Linked DNA regions of Homo sapiens: region 1 is linked to region 2. The links are contacts of gene promoters, found by promoter capture Hi-C in human tissues and cell types (Jung and others, 2019). All regions are on one chromosome and are shown on one strand. The core of a region is centred on a gene start or on the middle of the fragment in contact, and the rest is flanking DNA. Distances in the headings are between cores, read along the strand shown. Region 1 has its middle 12 kb from the start of RAP1GDS1. Region 2 holds the start of TSPAN5 (tetraspanin 5).

Evidence for each region. Contacts are between HindIII fragments. The study calls those that stand out against the background at their distance.
Region 1: a contact is called between a fragment that was not itself captured here and the fragment with the promoter of TSPAN5 in region 2, in 1 of the 25 tissues and cell types used here (spleen).

The regions. Positions count from the first base shown.
Region 1 is chr4:98,247,794-98,250,830 of GRCh38, reverse strand. No RefSeq gene overlaps it. Among named protein-coding and RNA genes, the nearest start is that of RAP1GDS1, 12 kb to the left of the region's middle. The HindIII fragment of the contact is 4,160 bases long and covers 1-3,037 here.
Region 2 is chr4:98,657,204-98,660,357 of GRCh38, reverse strand. It overlaps TSPAN5 (tetraspanin 5), which reads left to right and starts at 1,747. Exons shown (of 8, transcript NM_005723.4): 1 at 1,747-2,212. The coding sequence starts at 2,132. It overlaps TSPAN5-DT (TSPAN5 divergent transcript), which reads right to left and starts at 1,456. Exons shown (of 3, transcript NR_148380.1): 1 at 1,336-1,456. It overlaps LOC112267901 (a long non-coding RNA gene), which reads right to left and starts at 1,635. Exons shown (of 3, transcript XR_939016.3): 1 at 1,486-1,635. RefSeq lists silencers at 1,590-1,769, 2,023-2,182. The HindIII fragment of the contact is 6,297 bases long and covers 440-3,154 here.

The DNA.
Region 1 (3,037 bases), core at 240-2,739, 410 kb after region 2:
TACTCCTCCCACTGTCATCACCCTGAATACATTTACCTCTCTATTGTCCCAGGCAGAGCGGAACTGCAGGCTTTCCTTCCAGGGGCAGGCTAGTAAGTCACTGGCAGAGAATTAAGCCATTTTCAAGGAAAGAACCCAATAAGACACACATGCTCAATTTCTCTTCCCCTCTCACCAATGAGAGGATTCTCTCTTCCCCTCAGGGAGAGAAAGGAGTACTAAGGGATGAGAGTAGATGAGGCAGTTAATGAGAGGGACCAGGAATGTTTCCATGGTCTTCTTCCTGTTGATAGAAAGTTCTCTCCTCTCTATGAAATGTGTGGAGTGGGGGTAAATATTATCCTTACACTCCTATCAGATGGGTCTTTTAGGCCATGATTTGGAATCAGAATTTCATTTTAAATACTAAAAGAAAGCATTGAAAGCGTTTTACCCATAAAGCTACATAGACCGACCGACAGTTTGGAAAGATCACTCTGGCAGCTATGGAGATAAGTGGAAATAAGGTGAGCTTCCAGGAGGCTGTTGCAGAGATCAGGGTGAGACATGCAGAGGCTGCACCAGGGCAGTTGTGGTGGAGAAGGAGAAAAACAAGCTTTTCTACAGGTAGAAAATCTGGGGCTTGCTGATGAATTGGATTTAGAAGAGAATGTAAAGGAGGAGTTTAGGTTAAATATTAAAGTCCTGGTTTAAGTGATTGGATGAATGACCACGTCATGTACTGAAATAAGGAAAACTGGGAGAGAAATAAGATGGCAACAGAATTATACTCTGGATTTGCCAACATGAAAATTGTTGGTGAGTCAGCAAGAATAATTTCTGTGAATACTGGGAAGGGAAGTTAGATTTAGGGTTTGAAGAACTAGTAAATGATTGTGTGTGTACACACACTTTTTAAAAGAAGTTATGCTGTGGAGGTGAGCAGAGAAATGGCATAGTAGGGGAAATATGAGATCTTAAAATATTTTTTGTTGTTGTTTTATACTGAAGGAAATAATCTGTTGGTGACACAGGGTAGACAGAATAACTAGAGGTACAAAACTTTTGGAGAGGCAGGAGTGGGTGAGGATCCTGAGAGAAGGACACCCAACGTGAACCTTTGTAACAGAAATGAAGACCATGCATATACAGGGGGGTTGGTAGATTTGATGTCAAGAAGATGGAAAGTCTCCACTGAATAACTTCGATTATATTTATGAAGCAAGAGAAGGGGTCATTAATGGAAGGTAAGAGAAGGGGCATGGGAGATAGAAGATTTGAGGAGAGAAGAGAGCATGAAGTCGTTGTGTCCAAAATTATGATTGCAAACCTAAGGCAGAAATAAAGTAGTATTTGCTGGGCAGTGTTGAATGGCCATTTAAGGTTTGGAATCATTGATGAAGAGTTTAGTATGTCAGCCTGGTCGTGTTATTTTCCTCAACAATATTTCATTGTTTATTTGAGGTCCTGATGTGGCCAAGTAATGGTTGCAGTGCAAGTAATAGCACATGTGAACTGAAAGGATAAAATGTTTAAAATTTATATTTCAGAGGTGTTTCAGTTTGTAAGTTTTAGGGTGTGACCATGGGAACAGGTGGTTAAGGAGGAGTAGGGAAAAAATTAAGAAGTCTAGAAACTGAGAGAAAGGTTACTAGCTGAGTCATCACATGGGTGTGATGTATTGGGCCTGTAGTAGGTGGGGTGTGAGGGAAAAAGCAGATGTCACTTGAGAGGACTACTGGGTAAAATTTTGTCCTCAAATGGGAAGTTACTTAAAGTCAAAAATTTGAAGGGAAAATTCCCAGAGGATTGAGTATGTAAGATAGGGTTTTGTTATGTATTGCTGCCCAATAGACCATGTGAAAACTCAGTGTTTTAAAATAACAATTTTATTATCCCTCAAGATACTGTAGGTTGACTGGGCCCAGCTGGGTGATTCTTCTGATTCACATGATGTTAAATGGAGCTGAAATCACTGGAGGCTTTGATAGGGCTGAAACAGCCAAAATGGCTCATTCACATAACTGGTACCTGCTTTAGTGGAGATGGTGGGATAGCTGGGCTCAGGTAGGATGGCTAGTTCTCTCTCTCTCTCTCTCTCATCTCAAGGTCTCTCTTTCTTCACATGAACCTTCCAGCAGTATAGCTGGACTTTTTACATGGCAGCTCAGGGCTTGCAAAAGTGCAAAGGTAGAAGCTGCTAGGCCTCCTTGGGACTTAGACCCAGAATTGGCACAGTAGCACTTCTGCCTTTTTCTTTTGATTAAATTGAAGCACAAGGCCAATCCAGATTCAAGAGAAGGGACTCACAATGATATCAGTACCAGGAGATGTGATCCAATGGGAAACATCTGTGGATATTAGCTACAACAGGAAGTTTATTGATCCTAGATCCAGAATTTTTTGAGGGTAGATTGGAAAGGCTGAGGTAGAACTGATGGTTCAGTTTAGAAGATTACAAAGCAGTATGGGAATGAAAGAGCAAATTGTGGTAGATGACAGAGGGACTTCCACCTCCCAACATAACAGAAGTAAACAGAAATTTGAGGCATGACGGGAGTGGTTCTACTAAAGCAGTGATTTCCAAATTTCTTTATGATCATGCACCCCTTACTAAAATTTGTGAACACTCCTCAAATATTATAATTACATAATTATTAATTATATATATTTAATAATATTTTGGCCAGGCTTGGTGGCTCATGCCTGTAATCTCAGCACTTTGGGAGGCCAAGGTGGGTGGATCACTTGAGGCCAGGAGTTCAAGGCCAGCCTGGCCAACGTGGTGAAACCCCGCCTGTATTAAAAACACAAAAGTTAGCCGGGGCATGGTGGTGCATGCCTGTAATCCCAGCCACTCGGGAGGCTGAGGCACGAGAATCACTTGAACCCAGGAGGCAGAGGTTGCAGTGAGCTGTGATAGTGCAACTGCACTACAGCTTGGGCAACAGAGCAAGACTCTGTCTCAAAGAAACAAGCAAACAAATATTTTACTGTAATATATACTTTGTAAAAGAACCAAAAACAAAAATTAAGAATGGTGAGATAAATATTAAAT
Region 2 (3,154 bases), core at 498-2,997:
TCATCCAGTATTCCTGCAGCGACTGTTCTATTTATATACAGAATTACAACATAGCTCCAATAGGCTTAGGTAAAGCTTGTCAGTACCTTCCTGTTAACAAGGAAATCTGCTGCTGAAAGACCTTACTTTTGAAGTCTACCAGATTGGTGGTAGTATGGCCTGTGTTTTGAGTGGGTAGAGAGCACTTTTGAGGGAGTGAGGATTATTTCATCCAAAGGGCTGAAGCTACTGTTATCCCGTGTCATAGCTTCTGAGGTACTGAATGAGTAGGATCTCCTGGCCCTCCCATCTCTGTGGGTACCTCGTTCATACTTGCGACCTCAATATAGCCTCAATCCTGCTGAAGCCCAGTACTATCTCTAAATGTGGTTTATTGCAGGAAAAAGTAGCTTCTTGACTAGCCAAAACTTGACTGCCGGTTGTCAACTAGCCAGTTTTTGAGAAAAGTGAGAGGTTGTTACGTAGGAAACCTTATAACTAGAGGCTCTCAAACTCAAGTATTTAAGTATCATCTTTTAGATTTCTGTGTCCAGGATCGGGTTGCACTGGGTGGTGCTGGAAAAATTTTTTGATCTCACCTCCTTCTAGCCTTTTGAATCCTTAAAAATATTCCCATAGACATTTATACACAGTCCTGGGCGGTTCTTCCTTCTCCTTCCGTGAAATACTGGTACCTGCTTTGCCAACACCTATGAAAGTGCTCCAGGAGGAGGGCGGATAAGCAACTAATGAGCACACCTGCTCAGGTAGGGTTCTAAAACAATTTCCAGCCACCTGTTCTATTCTTCCCCAGAGTTCAAAAGCTTAATGGTTCGTGATCCAAAAACCCAATTCAGATTCCCCAGAAGACCTCCCTGGAATCCGTTGTGGATTCCTTCCTAGAGTTAGGAGGCAAGCAGGTTTCTTAGGCACTATTCTGTCGGGGTAGGGGGGAGCGTGCGCTGTCCGGGTTTGTGTGGTTGCAATAGACCCTAGGGCGAGGATCGCATCCCGGGCCAGGACTCCCTTGAGCCATCTCTTTTTCCTCGTCCCCATTTCTAGGATAAAACCCATTTCTCCGGTAGGTGGGGAGGTTGGGTTAGAGTCACACAGGGATTCAGGAAGCTTTCCTTTTCAACGTCCCATCCCTTCATCCTTTCCTCCCACTTCCCGTGGCTCTTTTCTCCACCTTCCCCAACTACCCCCTTTTCCATTCAGCGAAGTCCACGACGACTTTCCTTCCCTGTCCAGTGGCATCGCATCTTCTCTAGCCACATAAGCCTGTTGTGGAGGAGGGGGCGCCAGTGTGGCTACCCTGGAAGGGGTGTCGGGGGTGGCTCGCAGGTCCTCACTCACCCAGCCCTCTCCCCGAGGAGCGACCCTCTCGCCCGCGTCCCTCCAGAGCTGCGCCGCTCATCAATCCCGGTCACTCTGCCAGCCTGCTCCCCGGGCGCCCTTCCTTCTCCCTCTCGCCTGCGGTCCTCCACCCTCCCACCCCCTACCTACCCCGCAGCGACGTTCGGGGTCAGCGGCGCTTGGGGTTGGCCCGAGAAGGGGCGGGGATAAAGCGAGCGGTGGAAGGAGGCGGCTACGTGGTGCCACCGCCGCCCGGGAGCGCCCGACCCCGTGCGCGCGCGCGCCTAGCCAAGGCTTGGGCGGCGGGCGGAGCTGCGGGCGGCGCGGGCGGAGGAGCAGCCGGCCGGGCGGGCGGAGCGAGAGGCGGGCGGAGCGAGGGGTGGGAGGGCGCGCGCGAACGGGCGGGCGAGCAAGCGAGCGGCGTCTCCACCAGCATCTGCCGCGGCCGCCTTTGCCCGAAGCCCGGGGACGAACCGACGGACCGACCGCCTGGCGCACGGACGCGGGCGCTCGCTTTGTGTTCGGGGCTAGCGTCGGCGAGGCTTGAGCTTGCAGCGCGCGGCTTCCCTGCTTTCTCGCGGCCACCCCGGCTCCGGCGGCCTCGGCGCGCGAGGGGCTGGAGGTGCGGGAGCCGCTCTCCGCCGGTCGGTCCCCGCGCGGCTGAGCCCAGGCCGCCAGCGCCGCGGCCCCGTGCGGTGTCCCTGAGCTCCTGCTCCCCGCCGGGCTGCTCCGAGCAACGGTGCTTCGGAGCTCCAAACTCGGGCTGCCGGGGCAAGTGTCTTCATGAACCCAGAGGATGTCCGGGAAGCACTACAAGGGTCCTGAAGTCAGTTGTTGCATCAAATACTTCATATTTGGCTTCAATGTCATATTTTGGGTAAGTTGGAGCGCTCCTGGGATTCCAACTATTGTGGCCGATCGATTCGCGACGATTTCCCCCACGTTGTTCGTTGCCTTTACTTTTCGCAGCCCCGCAGGCGCTTGCCGGAGCAGCATAGAGGCATTCGCCTTCCGCCTTTCCAGCTTGCGCGTTGGAGAGATAAACATTTAATCCTTTCGAGGAATGGGAAGAGGTGAAAAGAGAAATCGAGGCGGAAAGGGGGCACCGAGGCCTTCTGGTGGCTTTTTGAGGAACGAATAGCAGGGATGCAGATAAAAGAAAGGGTTCGGCAGTTTGAGAAATGAGCAACCACACGAATTGGATTTGCTCTCGGTGGGATATAGATGTTGGGCAGAGCGTGGTGTCATAATAGGGAAGGCTAATCGGGCACGGCCGACCCTGAGGTCCACCTTCTAACAACGATCTGATTGGACGAGGGCTTGGCTCCGTGTTGCCGCGGCTGGTCTGTGCCATGCTCAGCGTGTATCTTCTTGCACCATCTCGGGCTTTGTGTAGGATGCAGATGCCGTGGTATATGGTCCTGTAATTGCACGTAAATAACGTTTCCTGCACGCTCTCCTCTTCAGCTGGAAAGCGCTCCCTGTGCGTAATGGACTGGTCAGTGGGGGTGCGGGGTAGAGGGATTTATTTGTATGTATATATCATCGTCAGGATAATAAGTCACCGTCAACATATATTTCAGTGTGTTCCTGCCCCACGTCCTCATTTTTAAAGGAGTGACACAGAGCGGGCCGTTTGGGGGAACCTTTGTAGAAATGCAAAGGAGAAGGTGTGCGAGGCATGTTTTATTGGGGAACCGAGAGAGCAAATGCTTTAACACAAGATTCAAATGATGCTCTGCTTGGGACTGCAATGTGTTGGGAACCTATTGTAATTAGGCTGGGACGCCTACTCTTTTTGTTTGTTTGTTTGTTTTGA